Linked DNA regions of Homo sapiens: all the other regions are linked to region 2. Evidence: promoter capture Hi-C in human tissues and cell types (Jung and others, 2019). All regions are on one chromosome and are shown on one strand. The core of a region is centred on a gene start or on the middle of the fragment in contact, and the rest is flanking DNA. Distances in the headings are between cores, read along the strand shown.

Region 1 (3,782 bases), core at 779-3,278, 1.5 Mb after region 2:
CTAGCAGGTGGATTCCCTGTTCTGGCTCTGCCTCTACCTGCAGTCTGTCCTCTTCCAGGGAGATGGTGGCTCCCATTTTGCTTAATAAGTCTCTACCCAGCAATGGAGTAGGACATTCCGGGGGGCATACAGAAATGAGGAGAAAAAAGCCTAGACATGGCCTCACAAGCAAGAGGGAAAGTAAATTTTCTTACCTTAGGACACCTGTCTATTCCCATTACCCTGCAATTGCAATTGGAGAGGAGGCAAATAGGCTGGGTCAGGACCGAGCAGGCAGCTCTGCTGTCCACGAGGAACTGTTTTCCTACCTGCCACATCAAGGGTGACCTGAGGCTCCGTGGTGTGATGACGATGGAGTGTGCTGCAGTCAGAGCCAGGGTGCTGTCAGGCGGTGTGTATCAATCTCATCTGAAAGCTTGGTGAGGAGTGGCGGCTGGCCAGGGTTGCCTGCCGGCTGTCCTGTTTTAAGGAGGTCAGGGCAGCCTCTCTTCCAGTGACCCCCTCCATCCTGCAGTAGGCACATTGGCTCCATCCAAGGTTGGCTGTCTTCGATTAGTTGGTCTCCTGAGAATCCTAGGGTCACCCTGAGATGGTGGATGAATTAGGGCAGCCAGAAGCTGTGCTGTCTTGGTCAGTCTCCTCTTCTTACCTGCCATCTGTGTCCTGTCCGTTATTGAAAACCTTAAAAGCCGCCTCTGCCAAAGTCAACAGCAGGGTCTGGGGTCTGGCCTCCAAATTTTCTGTAATTTCCTTCTAATGTCCGGAGCTGACTGAAGGATAAAATGCATGGCACGCGATGCTTCCCCTCTGCTGCCTCTGGGTCTGCATGGGTGCATTTCCCAAGGGCCTCAGGGACTCGATTGAGGAAGACTACTGGGATCTCCTTCTTTCTCTGGGTAATTTTCTTGACCCTGTCATAGTGTACAGGTTTTACTATACATTTCCTTCTTCCTTCAGTCAGGCAGGTGACAAAGTGGCTCATTCTAGCTTTTTCTAGGTTTTCTCCATAGTCTCACTCACGTGGAGACTATGCCTGGGACCGCATCTCCCCCTAAACAGATGACTGCATATTGGTCTTTAGTGACCACCTGGCTATTGGCATATTCCTTAGCCTTTCCAAATATGTGTTGCTTTTCATCAGTACTGCAAAGTGACCATAACATCCTGCCACGTCAATGAAAAGGCAAGATTTAGTTTAACAAATTCATCTCTAAACTTACCAGGATCCTCTGAAAATCTACCAAAGTGTTTTTTACATAGTCCTAGATCCACCACCAAAAAAAGGAACTTGGATCCTTGTCACTCCCCCGTTTCCATCCATTTCTCTGAGGGGAAAACAGCCCTGGGCCAGTGGGGAAGCAAAAGAGGGTGCCTGTTTGGAGTCCGATTGGAGCGCTGTTGGGGACAGCACAGGGGCTCCCCTCCCCAGGAGGCCTGCTTAGGGTAGGGAGGGAGTGCTCGGGGCCTGAGGCTGTGGAGGTCCGCTTCTTCAGGTTCCTTCAGGAGGAACCTGGAAATAGGGGCCACACACACCTGACAAGAATCCAGTAGCTCTGGGTCCTAGCATAACTTCATAAAAGCTTGTAGCTAGGTATCTCTCCCCATTTCTCTGTCCATTCACAGAATAGGTCGGGCGGTAAGATAGTGTTAAAACTAGGAGATCCACTTCTGCCCATGGCCATTTTTCTTGATCTAATGTGTACTAGGGCAGGTTGTATTACAGAGGAAAATCAGTTTCTTTTTTTTTAATTAAAAAAAAAATTTGATTTTGAGGCAGGGTCTCACTCCATTGCCCAGGTTGGAGTGCTATGGTATTACCACAACTCACTGCAGCCTCAACCTCCTGGACTTAAGCGATCCTCACTTTAGCCTTCTGAGTAGCTGAGACCCCAGGAAGGCACCCCCACACCCGGCTCATTTTTCCTGTTTTTTGTAGAGGTGGAGTCTTCCTATGTTTCCCAGGCTGGAGTTTCTTTTTCTTTAAACCATCTGATTTGGATTCCTTCCATTTAGAAATGATACATCCCAGGTGTGAGTCTTGGAAGATGCCTGGGGCATTGCCCATGACTGTAGCCCCTGTGTCTGCTTGTCTTATTAAAGGACCAGGGGCAGGGTGCAAGCACAGGTGTCAGGCGACGAAAAGAGAGTTGGCTCCCAGCCCCACACAGCACAACAGTACAGGTCACACAAGAGGGCCGGCGTGAGCAGTGAAGAGAACTCCCCAAAACCGAGTGCCAGCTTGGATGGTTTCTTTTTCTTCTTCAGCCTTACAGCAGGTCCAGGTTCTACTGACCAGTGTCCTGCATTTGGTAGTAACCGAATGACAGTCAATAAGATGTTGAATTAAACATACAAAAAGGAAAAACAGATCAGGGCATGAGCTAGGCAAACTCCAGCCCCATGTGCCGTCAATTCTCCCCGCATAAAGGCAGCACCCAGAGTCCGTAGGCTCAAACACTGAACAGACAGAGAAAAGCTCACAGGCTTCCCTTCCCAACAGGTGTGGCAAAGGGAGGGAAAGCACTGAAAGACTTGAAGATTGTCAACTATTGGGTCTGAAGCCAGGGCACCCAGTAGTTCCTTCCAGCCGTGTCAGTCCGTCCTGCACGGGTGTCTGTTCAGTTCGAGCCAATGAAGTTAAAAGTGAAGGAAGGAAAGCAGAAAGGAAGAAGGAAAAAGACAACAAATAGGGGACGCGAGGGAAGGGAAAACATTGTCTGGGGCAGGAGTGGTGAGGAGTCTTGCAGAGACCAGAGGAAAACTTACCAGTCGCGAGACTAGAGGAAAACTCGCCAGTCGCGGTGGCAGCGCTGAATCAGTGGGGCCTCCCTCCGGCTCGCAGGCTCACAAGCCTCCCCTGCAGGGAGGGAAATTACTCCTTGTGCTCCTACCTGGCTCACCAGATAATCTGTTATGGCACCAAGCAGATTTTCCAGACAAGGCTTTTAGTTGGGGGCTTGTGCTTGAGCGCACGGGGAGACGGCAGAGACTCTGCGGCTGGCTCTCTGGAAGAGCCGGGAGAGACGTTTTATTAGCAAAGCCTGGTAACTGACATCGGGAGAGGGCATGTAGGCTGAGCTGGGCAAAGCATGTGAGGGGTAGGGAATGCGGGTCAGCATATCTAGTGGCTGATGGTTATCTTGGTTAATGGACCACCTGGTGGGCTGGCCAGAGGCAACAAGGCTGTAATCAAGCTTGTTCAACCCCAGGCCTGCGGGCGGGGCGACATGCAGCCCAGGACTGCTTTGAATGTGGCCCAACACAAATTCGTAACATTTCTTAAAACATGAGATTCTTTTGTGACTTATTTTTTTTAAAGCTCATCAGCTATTGTTAGTGTATTTTGTGTGGCCCAAGACAGTTCTTCAGTGTGGTCCAGGGAAGCCAAAAGATTGGACACCCCTGCTGTAAATCAGTTGTTCAGTGTTCCTTCCTGGGATGAGACACTCCACCACCTTGGTTTGATATTTAGATTTCCTAAGGCTAGTTCCTGGGATTCTTTAAGTAGAAGGTCTGGTTAAACATGAAGAAGGAGCCGTATCCCATTCCTGTTCTTTTTCATTATGACTCTCCATCCATTAATGTAGTTGCCTGGAACATTTAAAAAGTGACCCCATATTTTCATAATCTGAATTTTTATGTCTTTTGTTTACTACTTTATTCCGAGGGCATGTAGAAAGTTACCTGGCCTTGCCCAGGCACAGTGGCTTATGCCTGTAATCCCAGCACTTTGGAAGGCCAAGGCTGGTGGATTGCTTGAGCCCAGGAGTTCGAGACCAGCC
Region 2 (3,466 bases), core at 369-2,868:
GTTGGCACCCCCCAGCACAGGGCACAAGGGAGACTTGCAGGGTGTTTGTCATGTTCCCTTTCTCAATCTGGGTGTGGTTTACAGATTTGTTCAGTTTGTGAAAATTCACTGAGCTCTATGAACAATTATAATATGTACATTTTTTTCTGTAAGTGTATTAAATTTCAATAAAAAGAATTCACACTATAGGGGTACAAAATAACTTAATTTTTCAAAGTCTTCCTTTTATTCAGCCAACATTTTAGTAAGTACCCTTTTTTTTTTACCAAGCACTGCTCTGGGAGCTTGGGACATGGGGTAGAAAGGACGGCATCATTGTCCTCATTGTCCTTCAGCTTAGCTGCAAGGCAGGTGAAGGATGCTTATAGTATGGTTGATTTTTGCTGGGCTCTATGAAGGATCAGAGGGTGCTAAGGAGGCACAGAGAAAGAGCTTTTAACGTGGGTATTTTACTGTTCCAGGGTTGCCACTCAAGTACCTACAGAACAAACGGGTGTAGCTGTAAACTGTGGCAAACTGAAAGCATGTAGGCACAGAGTAAGTAGCTAGAGCTGATTTTTTTCAGGAAAGGCCACAAATCCCAACTTTTATGAGCTCCTCTTTTAAATGCTGTAAATGTTTTACAATGGCGGGGCGCGGTGGCTCACGCCTGTAATCCCAGCATTTGGGAGGCCGAGGGGCAGATCACTTGAGGTCAGGAGTTCAAGACCAGCCTGGCCAACATGGTGAAACCTCTTCTCTACTAAAATTACAAAAATTAGCCGGGCATGGTGGTGCATGCTTGTAATTCCAGCTGCTAGGGAGGCCGAGGCGGGAGGATTGCTTGAACCCGGGAAGCAGAGGTTGCAGTGAGCTGAGATCGTGCCACTGCACTCCAGCCTGGGCGACAGAGCAAGATTCCGTCACACACACAAAAAAAAGGCGTGGGGGGAGGCCAAACAAAACCCCGCAAGACACATTTGGCTATGACCTGCCAGTTTGCTAGGCATTCTTCCAACCTTCCCTCCCTCTGACCAAGAAACTGAGTGTCCACTATTTTAGGCCCTGGGAAATTCAGTAGCGAGGAGGCCAGACAGCTTCGTTGCATCATGGGGGGCTCTGGTACTGTGCTTCTCCAACTTCAGGATGTGTAGGAATCACCTGAGCAGTCTTGTTGAGAGGCGGACACTGACTCGGGAGGTCTGGGGTAGGGCCTGAACGTTTGCCTTTGCGGTTCTAACAAGCTCTCAGGTGATGGCGATGCTACTGTTCCCTGGCCCCGAGGTAGAGGAAGATTTAAGTAAAAGCTTCCTGGAGGAGGCGCAAGTGAACCGCAGGAGCTTTCCCGGACGCCCGAGAAAGGGAGAAACCCCGAAGGAATTCCTCCTCTCTCGGGGCTGGGTCTCCGCATCCACGCCGGGTTTGGTTTCCCAGGCTATCCCACGTGTTCGGGCGTCCGTGTCAATCAGGTTTTCCCCGGCTGGGTCCGGGTTTAAAGGCTGCTGCTGCGCAGGGCGCTCCCATGGTGCCGCGCGGCGGGCGGGTTTGGATTTTAAATCCCCGCGGCCAATCAGTGGCGCGCAGGCTTTTGTAACGTTCCCAGCGCCGCGTTTGAATTCGGGGAGGAGCGGAGCGGTGCGGAGGCTCTGCTCGGATCGAGGTCTGCAGCGCAGCTTCGGGAGCATGAGTGCTGCAGTGACTGCAGGGAAGCTGGCACGGGCACCGGCCGACCCTGGGAAAGCCGGGGTCCCCGGAGTTGCAGCTCCCGGAGCTCCGGCGGCGGCTCCACCGGCGAAAGAGATCCCGGAGGTCCTAGTGGACCCACGCAGCCGGCGGCGCTATGTGCGGGGCCGCTTTTTGGGCAAGGGCGGCTTTGCCAAGTGCTTCGAGATCTCGGACGCGGACACCAAGGAGGTGTTCGCGGGCAAGATTGTGCCTAAGTCTCTGCTGCTCAAGCCGCACCAGAGGGAGAAGATGTCCATGGAAATATCCATTCACCGCAGCCTCGCCCACCAGCACGTCGTAGGATTCCACGGCTTTTTCGAGGACAACGACTTCGTGTTCGTGGTGTTGGAGCTCTGCCGCCGGAGGGTGAGTGTCGCTGCTGGGGAACTGGAACTGCCTGCGGGGCAGTTGGAGCGCCCAGACCTGGAGCTGCTGGAAAGAGTACCCAGCAAGGGAGAGCCTGGGACTTGGAGCTGCTAGAGAAGGGTGCTGGGAGCCTCCCGCTTACGTATGGAAAGTGTCTTTGGTAAGGGCTTCTTGGCTCTGGGAGCTGCTAGAGGAGGGGGTTCCAGTGAAGTGGAGTCTGAGTCATGTTGCTGATAGGGAAGTCAGCTTCTGGACGCGAGGTGCTGGGGGGAGGGGTGCTGGTAATGGACGCTAGGGCCCTGGAGTACCCAGGGAGGAGTCCCAGGTTAGTGATGCCGCGCCCTGGGAGCTTCTGGGGTGGAGCTGGGTCAGTGGGGGGGTAGTTGGAGCCAGACTTCGGGCCTTCCGGGGGAGATACGAGTCAGGAAAGGGATCTGGTGCTGGGGACTCGGAGCTTCCGGAGTGGGGCTGAGAGAGGACCCCCAGGTAAGGGGGGAAGCTAGTAGGAGAAGGGGTGCTGCGAATGGTTGTGGACAGTGTTAAGGCAGGGTCCAGATGCCGCTGTGCTGGAGAAGGAATGGGGTGGGGGCATAGGGAAGGAGAGAAACCCACCAAGACCCCTCTTTCATCCCTTGGGAGTCCAGAGTCCAGTCCTGTGCTTCCTTTGCCTGGTAACCCTCTCCCTTCCCCACCGGCCTCAATCCACCTCCCCATCCCTCCTGCCCTCTCCTTCCCACCCACAGTCTCTCCTGGAGCTGCACAAGAGGAGGAAAGCCCTGACTGAGCCTGAGGCCCGATACTACCTACGGCAAATTGTGCTTGGCTGCCAGTACCTGCACCGAAACCGAGTTATTCATCGAGACCTCAAGCTGGGCAACCTTTTCCTGAATGAAGATCTGGAGGTGAAAATAGGTGAGTTGCTGAGCCTGCAGGGGTGCTTGACATCACTACAAGAGGCTGGAATTTGGAGGAGGCTGGGAGAAAGGAAGGAGACAACCCACAAGTCAGTATCTTGCCTACAGATGCATTATTTTTTTGTGCCCCAATGCAATATTTTTTTTTTACAAAGAATTTGAATTTGTTTTTATTTTTTAAATTGGAAGGTTTGATTGAACAAAAAGTTTGATTCAGAACTCCTTTTAAACAGGTGAAAGCTTCAGTAATACGAGGACAGCATTTTCTTAGGGCAGCCCTTTGCTGGGCTGGAAAACAGCTGTCCCCTTCAGACTTCTTTGCCACAGTCTCTACTCCTCCCTATTCTTCACAGACTTGCCAAGTCTTGGAGGTTAACTTGCTTGATCCTTGAAGGCATTGGAGTTTTACTATCCCTGTCAGTTCCTGTTTCAAAGCATAGCCCCTTTCTAAAAGGAGGGGTGAGAAGTGTCACTGGAGGCAC
Region 3 (3,555 bases), core at 13-2,512, 1.1 Mb after region 2:
TCCCAGTACTTTGGTAGGCCGAGGTAGGAGGATTGCTTGAGCCCAGGAGTTTGACACCAGCACCACCTCATTCCAGCTCGGGGCAACTGAGTGAGACTTCGTCTCTAAATAAATAAATAAGAAGTTTAGTGCTTGAGGTTTCTATTGGGAGCTGGTTCTGTACACTATGGAAATCTACTCCCCGCCCCACTTTAAAATTACTGTGTAGTATTCCTTGGTGTGATTACAGGATGATTTAACTTTTCCCTATTGATTGGTTTTTGGTTATGATTTTATGCTGCGGTGTCTATCTTTGTACGGTTCCTTTTTCAGAGGCTTAGATTTGAATTGATGGATCATAAGATAGTGACATTTAAAAATTCATTGTGAATAGATACTTCCAAATTGCTCACCAGAAGCTTAGTGCTAGTCCATACATACTTCTGATAGCAAGTACAAGAGTACCCTTCAGAAGGGATTAATTTTAATGATATTCAGGGCTGGGAATGTAGGAAAAATTGACCATCAAGTGTCAGGAGGCGCAAGAGTAGGAAGGGGCATTCTACCTCCAAGGTGTACCCTGCTCCCTTGATAGGCCCTTGAAATAGAGACAGACTCTCACTATGTTGCCCATTCTGTTCTCAAACTCCTGGCCTCCCAGACTCCTGGGATTACAGGCCTGAGCCACCATACCCGGCCAGAAACGCATTCTTGAACGGTACAAGTAAATCATTTGTAGTGGCTACTGGAAGATACGGGCAAAATTTGAAGCTTAGCTTGATTTGTTGTGTGGAATCCTAATCTTGATCTATTTGTTTTTTCAGATCGAGATATTGCATTTCCCCTAGTCAATGTATGAAACCAACTTTAAAATACAATTTACATACAGTAAAATTCAAACATTGAGTGTGTAGGTGAATGATTTGACAAATGTATACACCCTTGTAATTATCACTCCAATCAAGTTAGAAAACATTTCCATTTTCCTAGAAAGTTCCCTCAGTGGCATTGACTTTTACAGGCCACCTCAAAGCCTTTATACATGAGATGCAGGACATAAGTCAAGTTCTGATAAAAGGGGAGTCTGGTTTTTACAGACAACGAGGTAGATTCATAGAACTTACAGATGTGAGGTATCCTGCAAAGTAGCCTTCAGGGCATGGATGATTGCTAACTGGAGTGTTGTCTTGGTGGCAGGTGCATCAAACAGGGTGGCCCACTTAGGCCTTTCAAATCCATCAGTCCTTGCTCCTCTTGATAGTTGTGGTAAATGATATAGTCAGATGTCTTAAGTGAGTCTCTATGAACATTTAACTCCTGGAAGCTGACGTGTTTGGGCACAGGTGTTGTTGTTGTTTTTCCAGTTGGCTTTCTCTGAAGGAGGAGATATGGGAAAAAGCATGACTGGTTGGCTGTGATGATAGTGTTGAAGAACAAAACTTACTCCCCTCTGTGCTTACAGTATCGGCTGATACTGTGATATTTCCTTGAGAAGAAATGTCTGGTACATCTTTTAAGTACTAAAGGGGATATTTTTGGCCAGGAAAACACTTGCTAGTAACCTCATCAGAAAGTCTTGAAAATGAAGTTTGAGAAAGGAGAAAATACTCCAGATAGAGACCATTACATGGAGTAAAATTATAGTGACATAGAAGATCAGAAAAGGACATGTCTGTAATTCACAGCAGAACATGAAGAACAAATGCTGAAGGTGCTAGATGTTTCTGAATAAGTACCTGTGCTATTTTGACACAAGAAGGGTAAAGACAGCCTTTTGGGTGCCACTGAGGACTGGTGAGTTGGATTCATGGCTAGGCAATTGAGTGCTTACTAGATAAGCTTTGTGCTAAGTAAGCAGTCCTAATTCTTATAAAAATATTAAGACATTGACATGTATGGTCATTTGCCCCCAGTTTTTTCATGAAGAAACAGAGGCTGAAGAAGATTAAGTATTTTTAACTAGTAATCAGCTTTTAATCTTGACTTCTGCATGTCTCAGGGTAGGTAACATGACAGTGGTGTAACCTAGTTGCCGTTGTTTACTGATTTTACTCTGCTGCTCTCATATGCTGTGGCTTTCTTGCTCCTTGACTTCCCTGGGATTGTAGTGTGAGTGAGCTTGTTCAGTCTTACTACCTCCTGCACACAGAATTCAAAAGAGAGTGAGTCATGGCCACAGTTGGCAGGAATCTGTTATGTTACTCCATTAGCCACATGACACTTCTGCTTGTAACAAAATGACAGCGAAGTATAGCAACAGTTATCATACTCTTCTTCCAGTTATCCTTTTAGCTGATTTTAGTAGTCCTATACTTTACTAAGTTTTTATCAATTGTGCATAATGTCATTCATTTCATTTTTCGGTGTCTGCATCTCCTCTCAGTCTGTTCCATCAGCAAAGCCAACTTAAATTTTGTTTAATCTCATTGCAGCGCACCTATAGCAACAACCCCTTCCAGTTTCTTAGGCACTTGTCTTTCTCCTTTTATCTTCTTCAACATCCCTACTGCCATATGCATTCCAGCCTTGATAAATAATGTGCAGCTTCCAAAATGTCTAGTTCATATCTCCAAATCTCTCTTTTTCTGCCTGATATTCCTTTTTTTTGAAACAGAGTCTTGCTCTGTCGCCCAGGCTGGAATGCAGTGGTGCCATCTCAGCTCACTGCAAGCTCCACCTCCCAGTTTCACGCCATTCTCCTGCCTCAGCCTCCCGAGTAGCTGGGACTACAGGTGCCCGCCACCACGCCCCTGCCTGATATTCTTAGTGTCCCCTCTGGAAAGCTTCCTCAGGGCAGAGTTAGGTATTTTCATTTTGTGTGATGCTTTTCTTTGGGTAACTGGTTATTTTGGTTGTTGGTATTATGAATGAAGGTTTAGGGTCTAGACTTTAGGGTGATGACTACAGGTAGCCGGAGTGAGTTTCTTCCGCCTTTGCAAAGGTTTTTTTTGCCCAGTAGACTCCTTCCCTGAATGGGAAGGCTGATCTGTGTGAAGGGTGTTGATTGGCAAGCTTTACTTTACAGTGTGATGGAGGGAGTGGCAGCAGCCTCCAGTAAGATGGGCTTTGTTCTGGGACAACCAAACCCATTCAAGCACCTATCAGACTCCTGTGGAAGGTTTTGTTTCTTTAGAGAGTATTTCTTTGGCTTGAGGCTGCATTTAGAAGCAGCTACTATCTGTGGCTGTGTAGGCATCTGGATGGGAAGTGGGTGGGGTTGAGTAGCTATGGCTTTTCTATTCCTTAGGCAGTCTTTTTGCTTCATGCTCTCTTGCTCTGGTCTTCTGGAACCCTCTCTAGAGCTCCACCAGAAAGGATGGTGCCTAAAACATCTATTTCAGACTGCTCTTATGTTTATTCTTGGGTGGGGTGGCTTTTGCTTTTGCTTATTCATTTGCTTTGAATAGAATAAAAAAGTAATAACCCTTTTTCCTGAAAGGTAATAACCTGTTTCCTGAAACACATTTGCGCAGTCTGTCACTTTGAAATCCTGAACCAGAGGTTCTGTTGACAACTTTAACCATTTGAGATTTTTAAAATTTAAACAAACTAATATGAAGAATACATTATTAGACC

The links. The method cuts DNA at HindIII sites, captures the fragments that hold promoters and counts their contacts. A contact is called where the count stands out against the background at its distance.
Region 1: a fragment that was not itself captured here is called in contact with the fragment with the promoter of PLK1 in region 2 in 1 of the 25 tissues and cell types used here (lymphoblastoid cells).
Region 3: a fragment that was not itself captured here is called in contact with the fragment with the promoter of PLK1 in region 2 in 1 of the 25 tissues and cell types used here (dorsolateral prefrontal cortex).

The regions. Positions count from the first base shown.
Region 1 is chr16:25,145,940-25,149,721 of GRCh38, forward strand. All of the region lies in intron 4 of LCMT1 (leucine carboxyl methyltransferase 1), which reads left to right. LCMT1-AS2 (LCMT1 antisense RNA 2) reads right to left here and starts at 3,093. Exons shown (of 3, transcript NR_039998.1): 1 at 2,767-3,093; 2 at 309-2,300. The HindIII fragment of the contact is 4,005 bases long and covers 27-3,782 here.
Region 2 is chr16:23,677,271-23,680,736 of GRCh38, forward strand. It overlaps PLK1 (polo like kinase 1), which reads left to right and starts at 1,619. Exons shown (of 10, transcript NM_005030.6): 1 at 1,619-2,070; 2 at 2,814-2,982. The coding sequence starts at 1,663. DCTN5 (dynactin subunit 5) reads left to right here. Exons shown (of 6, transcript NM_032486.4): 6 at 1-202. The HindIII fragment of the contact is 4,791 bases long and covers 1-2,255 here.
Region 3 is chr16:24,746,307-24,749,861 of GRCh38, forward strand. All of the region lies in intron 2 of TNRC6A (trinucleotide repeat containing adaptor 6A), which reads left to right. Among named protein-coding and RNA genes, the nearest start is that of TNRC6A, 18 kb to the left of the region's middle. The HindIII fragment of the contact is 3,228 bases long and covers 1-2,876 here.